2 separate regions of the Homo sapiens genome follow, and region 1 is linked to region 2. The links are contacts of gene promoters, found by promoter capture Hi-C in blood cells and fetal thymus (Javierre and others, 2016). All regions are on one chromosome and are shown on one strand. Each heading gives the region's core, a stretch centred on a gene start or on the middle of the fragment in contact. The rest is flanking DNA. Distances are from core to core; before and after follow the strand shown. Region 1 overlaps SPATS2 (spermatogenesis associated serine rich 2). Region 2 holds the start of PRPH (peripherin).

Region 1 (4,777 bases), core at 741-3,240, 190 kb after region 2:
CATTTCCACTAGCAGTGCCCCAGAATTCCAGTTTTTCCACATTCTTGCCACACTTGTTGTTTTCTGTTTTTTTTTTTTAATAAATAAATATGCACCCTGGGTATAAATATAATCAGAACTTTAAACAAAATTAATTCTAAAACACTTAGTACAGTATGATCTTCAGGTTAAATTATAAATTAACAGCAGAATGAGACTGTGTTTTAAAGCTTGTCAAGACACCTGTTCAAGGTTGATTTAATACATGGAATAATCAGGCTCAGCTATTTCTATGTCATTCTCAGTGCCTAAAAACAACTTTTACCTAATTTTTGAAGCCAGCAAAAACAATAATAACAAAACCTGTAGTATTTACAAATATGTCATTTGTACTGTAAATAACATACTTTTTCTCAAATATACCTGAATGTGTGCTATTTGAAATAATTCCAACCAGCCTGACCAACATGGTGAAACCCTGTCTCTACTAAAAATACAAAAATTAGCCAGGCGTGGTAGCGCGTGCCTGTAATCCCAGCTACTGGGAATGCTGAGGCAGAAGAATGGCTTGAACCCGGGAAGCGGAGGTTGTAGTGAGCCAAGATCACAGCACTGTACTCCCCGCCTGGGCAACAGAGCGAGACTCCGTCTCCAGAAAAAAAAGAAAGAAATAATTCCAAAAAAACTTCTGAAATGGTTCCTGATAGAGTGAAATAAATAAGAAAGCTCAACAAGCTCAAGGCTTCCTCATTTTTTTTTTTTTTTTTTTTTTTTTTGGAGATGGAGTCTTGCTCTGTCGCCCAGGCTGGAGTGCAGTGGCTCATTCTCAGCTCACTGCAACCTCTGCCTCCCGGGTTCAAGCAATTCTCCTGCTTCAGCCTCCCCAGTAGCTGGAATTACAGGTGCCTGCCACCATGCCTGGCTAATTTTTGTATTTTTAGTAGAGACGGGGTTTCACCATGTTTGCTGATCTCGAACTCCTTACCTCAAGTGATCCGCCCGCCTCAGCCTCCCAAAGTGCTGGGATTACAGGTGTGAGCCACTGCATCTGGCCTAGGCATCCTCATATTCTTTATGAATCTTGCCTGAGAATTTTTTTTTTACCTGAACACCCAGGATTAGAGAATATTTAGCAGCACTTTTTCCTTAAAAATGTGTTTCTGATAGAATACATGCTCTCTTATCACAGCTAAATATTAATAAAAAGATGAAATCCTGCCTTATTTCTTACCAATAGAATTAGGTAAATCTTAAGCTTTCTTTTCATGAAAAAATAAGTTTAAAAATCACTAAGTATTGATGGGAATTAAAAATTACTTTCTGTATAATACTAAGAGACATTTAGGTGCCAGTTGATTAAAGTAAGGTTTTGAATCTACTTGAGGTGTTGGTTTAAGTTTAAAAAGGCAGTATCAGCTAGTGAGTAGACAAATTAAGATGTTAGATTATTGCTTTATCTTTTTGGTGACCTCATGTCATAGAATATAAATGCAAAATTGTCATTTGTGCCCTCCTGACCTATGTAGACCATCTCAGTGCCTCCCATGCCCTCTGGCTTACTTAAGTTTGGCCACTGGGCAGCATTGGCAGGAGATTCCGAGGAAGGGAGGAGAGTAAGGTAGGGGACTTTTATTCCTCTAATCTTTCTCTGAGGGGTAGCTGTGGGCTGAGTGTGTCCTTTGGCCAAAGGTCACAGCAACTGTCTGATGGCGCTTTCTATACCAGATGAAACAAAAATAAAAGGGCCCTTTCTGTCTTTGGCTCCTGTAACTGCTTCCTCCTCACACTCAAGTCTCAAGTAGCAGTGCACATTGCTTAAAAGCCAGCAAAAACAGTAACAAGAGGTACAGCCCTATCTTGGGTGGTTTCCCTACTCTTTGCTAACACCTTTGAAAATACTCCTATTATTAAACTCTATTAAGATTGCCCAATTTGAGTATGCCATTCGCTTCCTCTTTGGGATCTTGACTGAAATAGCTGCTTTATATATTTTTAATCATTATCCTAACAGTATTCCAGATAAACCCTAATTATACTAATTTATTTTGGCCAATAATTGAGTGTTTGCAGAACTACCCTTTGTTTTTTGTTTGTTTTTTGAGACAGGATCTCTCTCTGTCACCCAGCTGGAATGCAGTGGTGCATTCACGACTCATTGCAGCCTCAACCTGCCAGACTCCAGCTGTCTTCCCGCCTCACCCTCCCAATTAGCTGGGGCTACAGGCAAGTGCCACCATGCCCAGCTAATTTTTCTCCTTTTTATAGAGGCAGGGTTTCACCATATTGCCCAGGCTGCTCTTGAACTTCTGGGCTCAAGCGATCCACCTGCCTTGGCCTCCCAAAATGTTCGGATTATAGGCGTGAACCACCACACCCAGCCTTTCCTTTGTTTTTCTTGCAGTTTGTGTCATCTAGTATGTTGTTAAAGGAAAAAAAAAAAAAAAACAGAGCTAGATAAGAGGCTAGTAATAGAACCCAAAATGCTGTTTTGTGTTCCCTCTTTTCCCTAAAAGAGATTGGTGGTTTGATTCACTAATAAGTGGATTATTGATGTCCTTCATATCATTCCCACTGCTCATTAATACCTCTTTGGGGGAGGATACATTAAAACATTCGAGTTATATCATTTGGCTGATCTATAGGAATTCTGAGAAGGTTCTAAATAGTGCTTTGGTTCTATAAGATCTTCGTTTTTGTAGACTGTGTCTCTTTTCAATTAATAAAGATAATTGGGAGTTAACCATATTATATAGTCATCTAGAAAACTGAAGCTTAAATACTGTTTGTATAAGTGTTACCCGATTTTTCATTTGAGTAGCAGTCTAGAAATGGCCGGTATTAACAAAAGTTAAATCTAAATTAATTCAAGGTTCAAGATTAAGCCATGAAAGAATCTTTAATTGAAACATATCTGTAATAACAGCAAAATAATTTGGAAAGTGTACTAGAGTATTACCGTGGTTTTTTTGTACCCCTTTTCTTAACATTTTTCCTTTTACTTGCCTTGTTGAAATTCTAACTCCTAAGCTACTTCCAAGTACAGTGCAGAGATCAGTAATATTGTTATCACCTGGGAGTAAAAATCTGCCACAGGCCAGACTGCTGAATCACAACCTACATTTTAGCATAAGATTCCCTAGGTGGTAAGTATGCACATCAGAATTTGAAAAGCACTCTAACCATTTCCTGAGATTTTATCTTATTGGGTTAAAACAAAGCTATTGAGTGTTAAAGCTGAAGTAATTTATTGATCACATAGGGGTAAAGAAACTGATTAAATTTGCACATAGCCTTTTTCTTTGTAAGTACAGAGAAACCAGAATCTTTTTTTGTAATCAATCATATTGAACTGTTTTTCCATAACCTACAACTTGGATGCCTTGCGTCATCAAGCATTATATTAGGGACACACACATGAATGTATTCACGGGTTTATAGTCTACAAACATAACATGTATGGTTCTGGCTAGAAGAGGAAATAACTGTGTGTTGTTAATGCTACAGAAGCTCCCATCCCACTCACATTTTCAGATTCTTTAGTGTTAAATTTTACCATGGGGAGCTATTTACTTGTGACATTTTTAGAAGGCCTTAAGGTGGGATAATTAACAACGATATCAAGGATTACAGGACAGTCTAATATGGTTGATGTATTTAGTGTTTACCTCAAGCTGTGACAGTTTTTATTAAAATTAAATTTCTGTATTATAAGTTTAATTCAAAAGGCAGTTATATGTTATCTATGTAACAGAATTTGCCAAATAGCAACTAAGTTGCTGTTAATTGTTTTATGGGACGAAAGCAGCCAGTCTTGGCCCTTCTGTCTTAGGGATGGATTATATTTGGATCATGTTGAATATATTTTTCCCTTATTCTTTCAGATTCATCAGGATTCATTTTTGATTTGCAGTCCAATACCGTACTGGCCCAGGGAGGAGCTTTTGAGAACATGAAAGAGAAGGTAAGACTAGTCACTATGGATAGTAAACTTAAATGTCATAGGAAAATTTAGGTACTAATACGACTAGTGGCTACCACAAACTCATTATGAGACTGAAATTTTAAGAATAAAACAATGCCACTATATATCAGAGAGTGACGGCCATAAATAGGTTCTGATTGCGCAGAACCTATTAACAGAACCTATTAAATGCAAACATTTTCTTTGCCTATCTCCATGTATATTCATTCTAAATTCTTTTGAAGATATTCAGTATTAATTAGTTGATTAATATTTATGTGGCTGAGTGTATCTCACTTGGCAACATTCCTTAAGGAACAATCGAATAGGATCTTCCCAAGTACTTGAAGAGCATTCTTAAGTCCAGGAGCCTTCAGAGCCAAGACAAGAAATAGGTCTTTTTTTTTTTTTTTTTGAGACGGAGTCTCGCACTGTCACCCAGGCTGGAGTGCAGTGGCCGATCTGGGCTCACTGCAAGCTCTGCCTTCCGGGTTCGCGCCATTCTCCTGCCTCAGCCTCTCCAAGTAGCTGGGACTACAGGCGCCCACCACCATGCCCGGCTAATTTTTTGTATTTTTAGTAGAGACAGGGTTTCGCCGTGGCCTCGATCTCCTGACCTCGTAATCTGCCCACCTGGGCCTCCCAAAGTGCTGGGATTACAAGCGTGAGCCACCATGCCCGGCCGAAATAGGTCTTTTGTGGGTTTTTTCGAGACAGAGTCTCACTCTGTCACCCAGGTTGGAGTGCAGTGGCACGATCTCAGCTCACTGCAATCTCTGCCTCCTGGGTTCAAGTGATTCTTGTGCCTCAGCCTCCTGAGTAGCTGGGATTACAGGC
Region 2 (5,483 bases), core at 2,938-5,437:
CCTCCCAAGTAGCTGGGATTACCGGCGTATGCTACCACGCCCGGCTAATTTGTTTGTTTGTTTTTTGAGATGGAGTCTCGCTCTGTCACCCAGGCTGGAGTGCAGTGGCGCGATCTCCGCTCACTGCAAGCTCCACCTCCTGGGTTCACACCATTCTCCTGCCTCAGCCTCTCCAGTAGCTGGGACTACAGGTGCCCGCCACCACGCCCGGCTAATTTTTTGTATTTTTAGTAGAGACAGGGTTTCACCATGTTAGCCAGGATGGTCTTGATCTCCTGACCTTGTGATCCGCCCGCCTCAGCCTCCCAAAGTGCTGGGATTACAGGCGTAAACCACTGTGCTCCACTGGCATGTCTTTGTTCTATGACTGTTCTTTGGCCAGCCATGGATCTCTTTACTCTCCCAATCTCCCACTCTCTCTTGCCTACATGCCCTCCTAATCCAGCTTTGAGCCCGTGGCCTGACATTTAATAGCACTCTTGGCCAGGCGTGGTGGCTCACGCCTGTAATCCCAGCTCTTTGGGAGGCCGAGGCAGGCGGACCATTTGAGATCAGGAGTTCGAGACCAGCTTGACCTACATAATGAAACCCCGTCTCTACTAAAGTACAAAAATTAGCCAGGCATGGTGGCAGGTACCTGTAATCCCAGCTACTCGGGAGGCTGAGGCAGGAGAATCGCTTGATCCCAGGAGGTGGAGGTTGCAGTGAGCTGAGATCATGCCACTGCACTCCAGCCTGGGCAACAGAGCAAGACTCTCTCTCAAAAAAAATTTAATTTAATTTAATTTAAAAATAGCACTCTTGCCAGTAACCTAAACTTCGTTACTCACCTTCCCTGCAAACCCCTGAACACATGCAATAGTTGTTTCTCTTCCAGCCTTCATCAGAGCAGCCAAGGGAGGCAGGAGGAGGAGGAGCGATGAGAATACTGGCAAATACTTCTACAGCATGTACTAGGTGCCAAGCACAAGTGCTTTACAGAGGGTAACTCGTTTAATCCTCCCAACACCATGAGGTAAGTACTGTTATTATCATTCCCATTTGTGGATAAAGAAAATGGGGTGGCCAGGCGCGGTGGCTTATGCCTGTAATCCCAGCACTTTGGGAGGCCGAGACAGGTGGATCACGGTCAGGAGATCGAGACCATCCTAGCTAACATGGTGAAGCACCGTCTCTACCAAAAATATGAAAAAATTAGCCGGGCGTGGTAGCAGGCGCCAGTCATCCCAGCTACTCAGGAGGCTGAGGCAGGAGAATGGCGTGAACCCGGGAGGCGGAGCTTGCAGTGAGCTGAGATCGTGCCACTGCACTCCAGCCTGGGCGACAGAGCGAGACTATGTCTCAAAAAAAAAAAAAGGAAGAAAAAAGAAAGAAAGAGAGAAAGAAAGAAAGAAAGAAAATGGGGTGAACAGAGGTTAAGTCACTCAGAAAACCCAAAGCACACAGCTAATTAAGGTGAGCAGCCATGAATGAACCTGCACCATCTGCCCAGAGTCCCGGTCCACCAGGGGAGGATGAGGCCAGGGAGGACTTGGCTTCTTCCGCCTTGGGTCCAAGCACTACTTTCAGCAACCAGGGGCACAGTCCAAAAGAAGCCCAGACTCTCACTGCTCTTGGGGCTGACATTATCACTCTGGAGGTTAATAATAATAGCAATAATAAAACCAGCTTCCATTTTCAGGCTTTAAGATGTGTGTCCTAAGCACTTCACATGTATTTATTTATTCCTTTAGTCCTCCCAACAACACTATGAGGTAGAAGCTACAGTTAGTTATCTCCCTTTTCTTGAGGGACATGAAGGGACGTAGTGACGAGCCTAAATTCTACAACAGAGTGGTGGATCAGATGGGAAGTGTGGCAGCTGGATGCCAGAGCCCGGCTCTTAACCCAGACTCTTTGCCTACCTTTGCTCCGCCTGGAGTTGCTGGCCTGCTCCTTCTGCTTTAGGGGAGGAGCCTCTTCTGCCTGGCAGTTCCCCACCCAGGCCTGATCCACAGCTCCAGAGCCCTGCTGTGGCAGCCCTCTGTCCCTTCTCCTCCGAGGCATGTAGGTGGCCAGCGGAGCCCTTAAGCAGGGTGAGGACGGGAACTCCATCTGGAACTCCCCAGGCCCAGCTGCAGCCCCAGCAGCCTCTACTCTCAGAGGCTTGGGTCCCCCACTAGTGCCCTGTAGACAGGGCCTGAGCTGGTCCTCCCCAGGCCTTGCCCGCCTCTCCTGATGCAGAGCTGGCTCCCTGCTCCTGGAGGGTGGGGCCAAATCCGGGATAGATGGGGCTCCAGGCCAACAGCAGCTGGGGCTCAGTGCCCAGGACTGCGGCAGGAAGCACCAAGGCTTCCCTAGCCCCTCCTCACACCCACCAAGCCTCCCGGCCCTATCCCGGGTGGGACCCTACCCCTCCCAATTCCCAGGAGTTAGGGGAGGCCAAGCTGTCATTTATTCGTCCTGTCCCATCTCTCCCTTCCTCCCGCTTCCCACTCCCCTGGCAACCAAACCAGACCCATCAAGGAGAAGGAACTGGCAGCTGTGCAGGGAGAGACTAATGGCCCGGAAGGAAGGAGGGGCCTGGAAAGGAGACGAAGGCGGTAGGGACGTGAGCAGGGCGTTGGCCCTGGCCCATCTCACAGGACGCACAAAGGGGGGAGGGGGCTGCTGCCCTGCAATACTGAGGAGCTGGCCAGCCAGGGAGCCGCCCTCCTTACCCCCAGCCAGATATCCAGGCAGGAACCTGAAACCTGCTTCCCCAGATGCACTCTCTTGTCCTCAGGTCCCATCTGAGGCAGACCTGTCTCACAGGACAGCGCTGGAGTCCCCAGCAGCAGCAGCAGCCCCAGCCCTATGGTTCCTGGCAAACCCAGCAGACCTCAGCAACCCGGCTCCTGCAGACCATCCGAGCTGCCTCTGTCCACTCCTGGGCAGGTTGTGCTTGCATTCTGGAAGCTGTTTGACATACAAAGGCCAGATATCAGCCTTCTCGCTAACTCTGGAGTAGGGGAGGGTGTGGTGGGATGTGTGATTGTGTGTGTATGTGTGTGTATGTAGTGTGTGTGCGCATAGATATACAAAGCTGTGTGTATGCATCTGTTTGCGTGCGCAGGTTTGTGGACCTGTTCTGGGGCCTTCTCTCTTTCAGACTGCTGGGGATGGGCACTTTCTCTTTCCCCATCTCTTCCCCATCCAGCCCCACCCATCCCTGGTACCTGCAACTCATCAATACTGGAAACCAGCTCCTGCCAGTCCATCCATCTCTCAGCCTTGGCAGCCGCTGTTGCCCCTCAGCCCCCTCCCCTTCCTACCTCAGGAATCACTCTGGTTCCTGTAAAGCCCATGACTGAGCAGCAATTGGTGTGGGGTTGGGGGGAGGGAGAATCCAGTAAACCAAGACAGAATACAAAAGGCCCACTTAGCCCAGCCCGTGGCATGGGGCAGACCCTCCCGAGTGGGATCCAGAGCTGGGTCCAGCCACCCTCAGCCCCCTATGATGTACCCACCTCATTGGGGCTTGTTGCGGGGTAGGTCTAGGTTTGGGGGCTGTGTCTTTAAGGCTGAAACATCAGCAGACAACCTCTGCTGGGCCGTCTTCAGGGGAGGGGGAGGGGGGCTGGTCAGCCCATTAGCAGCAGAGCTGGCGCCAGGCACCAGCCCTTCACAGGGCCCTGGGGATTAGGGAGAGTAGCTCTTCCCCAGCCCGATCTGCCTCTGCGCCCCTGTCTCCTATTCCTCTCTGGGTGTGGTGAAGGAGGGGTAGCTGACAGCAGGTGAAAATAGAGCCTGGCCTTCAGGGGGCAAGTCAAGGCACTAGCTATGGGGCCTAAGCCAGGTCAACTCTCCCTCCAGCTGGCCTCCTCCCTACTCCTGTGCCAGAAGCCTGCCCTTTAACTTCAGGTCCTTCTACCTCGCAATTTTCAGGGACTCTAGTTCAAGTCAGGCCTTCCTACCCTAGGTTCTAGCTTTGGGTGCTTGTTGGGAGGAAGTGACCCCCACCCCAGCGGCAACAGGGGGCAATCAAGTGGGTAGAGGCCTGCAACCAGGGAAGGGAGGGGAAGGCGCTCCTGCTGTTCCGCAGGGGTGGGGCATCCCCCTCCCCATACAACCCCCCTCCAGCGGGCCATCAGGCCAGTGGGAGGAGCTGCCCGTGCCCCCCCTGAGACCGCAGGGCTATAAAGCCGCCTCGCAGCGGTCTGCGGCTCCTTCCCAGCCCCCGGCCTAGCTCTGCGAACGGTGACTGCCCATCCTTGGCCGCAATGAGCCACCACCCGTCGGGCCTCCGGGCCGGCTTCAGCTCCACCTCATACCGCCGTACCTTCGGTCCACCGCCCTCACTATCCCCCGGGGCCTTCTCCTACTCGTCCAGCTCCCGCTTCTCCAGCAGCCGCCTGCTGGGCTCCGCGTCCCCGAGCTCCTCGGTGCGCCTGGGCAGCTTCCGTAGCCCCCGAGCGGGAGCGGGCGCCCTCCTGCGCCTGCCCTCGGAGCGCCTCGACTTCTCCATGGCCGAGGCCCTCAACCAGGAGTTCCTGGCCACGCGCAGCAACGAGAAGCAGGAGCTGCAGGAGCTCAACGACCGCTTCGCCAACTTCATCGAGAAGGTACGCTTTCTGGAGCAGCAGAACGCGGCCCTGCGCGGGGAGCTGAGCCAAGCCCGGGGCCAGGAGCCGGCGCGCGCCGACCAGCTGTGCCAGCAGGAGCTGCGCGAGCTGCGGCGAGAGCTGGAGCTGTTGGGCCGCGAGCGTGACCGGGTGCAGGTGGAGCGCGACGGGCTGGCGGAGGACCTGGCGGCGCTCAAGCAGAGGTCAGGGGGCAGGGCTGGGCCGCTGCCGTCGAGGCGAGGTCGAAGCGGCCGTCGAGGCGGCTGCTCTTGCCTCCCCTCGCTTCCCCTCTCCATCAGCAGCCCAAGGGTGTGGCTCCCCTTACCAACCCAGGTGTGTGCGGGCAGCATCCCTGCCCACGGGCTCCAAGTGCCCCCCGCTACCCCTTTGCTCTGAGTGTTTGGGGAGGTGGGAGAAGTGGGTATCTGTGCCTCCCCTGAGTAATGAGGAAACCCCCTTTTCAGCTCCCAGTCCGTTAGAGACAATGCGGGGCAATTCCATTAGACAGCCTCAGCCCTCCATTTAGAGTCCTGGGCAGCAGAACAGCCTCTAACCGGATCCTGGGGGGCGTGCGGTCTGGGGTGCGAGCTGGGCGGCGACCCCGCAGTTCAGCCTCTGCACGCTCTTCCCGTCAGGTTGGAGGAGGAGACGCGCAAGCGGGAGGACGCGGAGCACAACCTCGTGCTCTTCCGCAAGGTGAGTCCGAGCCCCTCTCCGAGTTCAGCCTCCCCACCGCTACCCCCGATCTCAGTATCCAGAGGTGGCATCGGTGGGCGCGGGGAGAAGGGGGTAACCCAGATGCCTCCTGAGGCAGACAGGGAAGGCCTGGTCCTTCCTTGGTCTGCGCAGCCCCTAACTTATCTTGAACCTCCACTGCCACCCCTCGAAGGACGTGGACGA

Evidence for each region. Contacts are between HindIII fragments. The CHiCAGO score rates a contact against its expected background, and 5 or more counts as called.
Region 1: a fragment that was not itself captured here is called in contact with the fragment with the promoter of PRPH in region 2 in 1 of 17 cell types (erythroblasts); the score reaches 6.2 in erythroblasts.

The regions. Positions count from the first base shown.
Region 1 is chr12:49,480,730-49,485,506 of GRCh38, forward strand. SPATS2 (spermatogenesis associated serine rich 2) reads left to right here. Exons shown (of 14, transcript NM_023071.4): 4 at 3,861-3,940. Among named protein-coding and RNA genes, the nearest start is that of KCNH3, 56 kb to the right of the region's middle. The HindIII fragment of the contact is 1,516 bases long and covers 1,233-2,748 here.
Region 2 is chr12:49,290,960-49,296,442 of GRCh38, forward strand. It overlaps PRPH (peripherin), which reads left to right and starts at 4,188. Exons shown (of 9, transcript NM_006262.4): 1 at 4,188-4,786; 2 at 5,219-5,279; 3 at 5,473-5,483. The coding sequence starts at 4,242. TROAP-AS1 (TROAP and PRPH antisense RNA 1) reads right to left here. Exons shown (of 8, transcript NR_120449.1): 6 at 4,301-5,483; 7 at 3,489-3,576; 8 at 1,672-2,937. RefSeq lists enhancers at 1,680-2,443, 2,444-3,206, 3,286-4,203, 4,204-5,120. The HindIII fragment of the contact is 27,974 bases long and covers 1-5,483 here.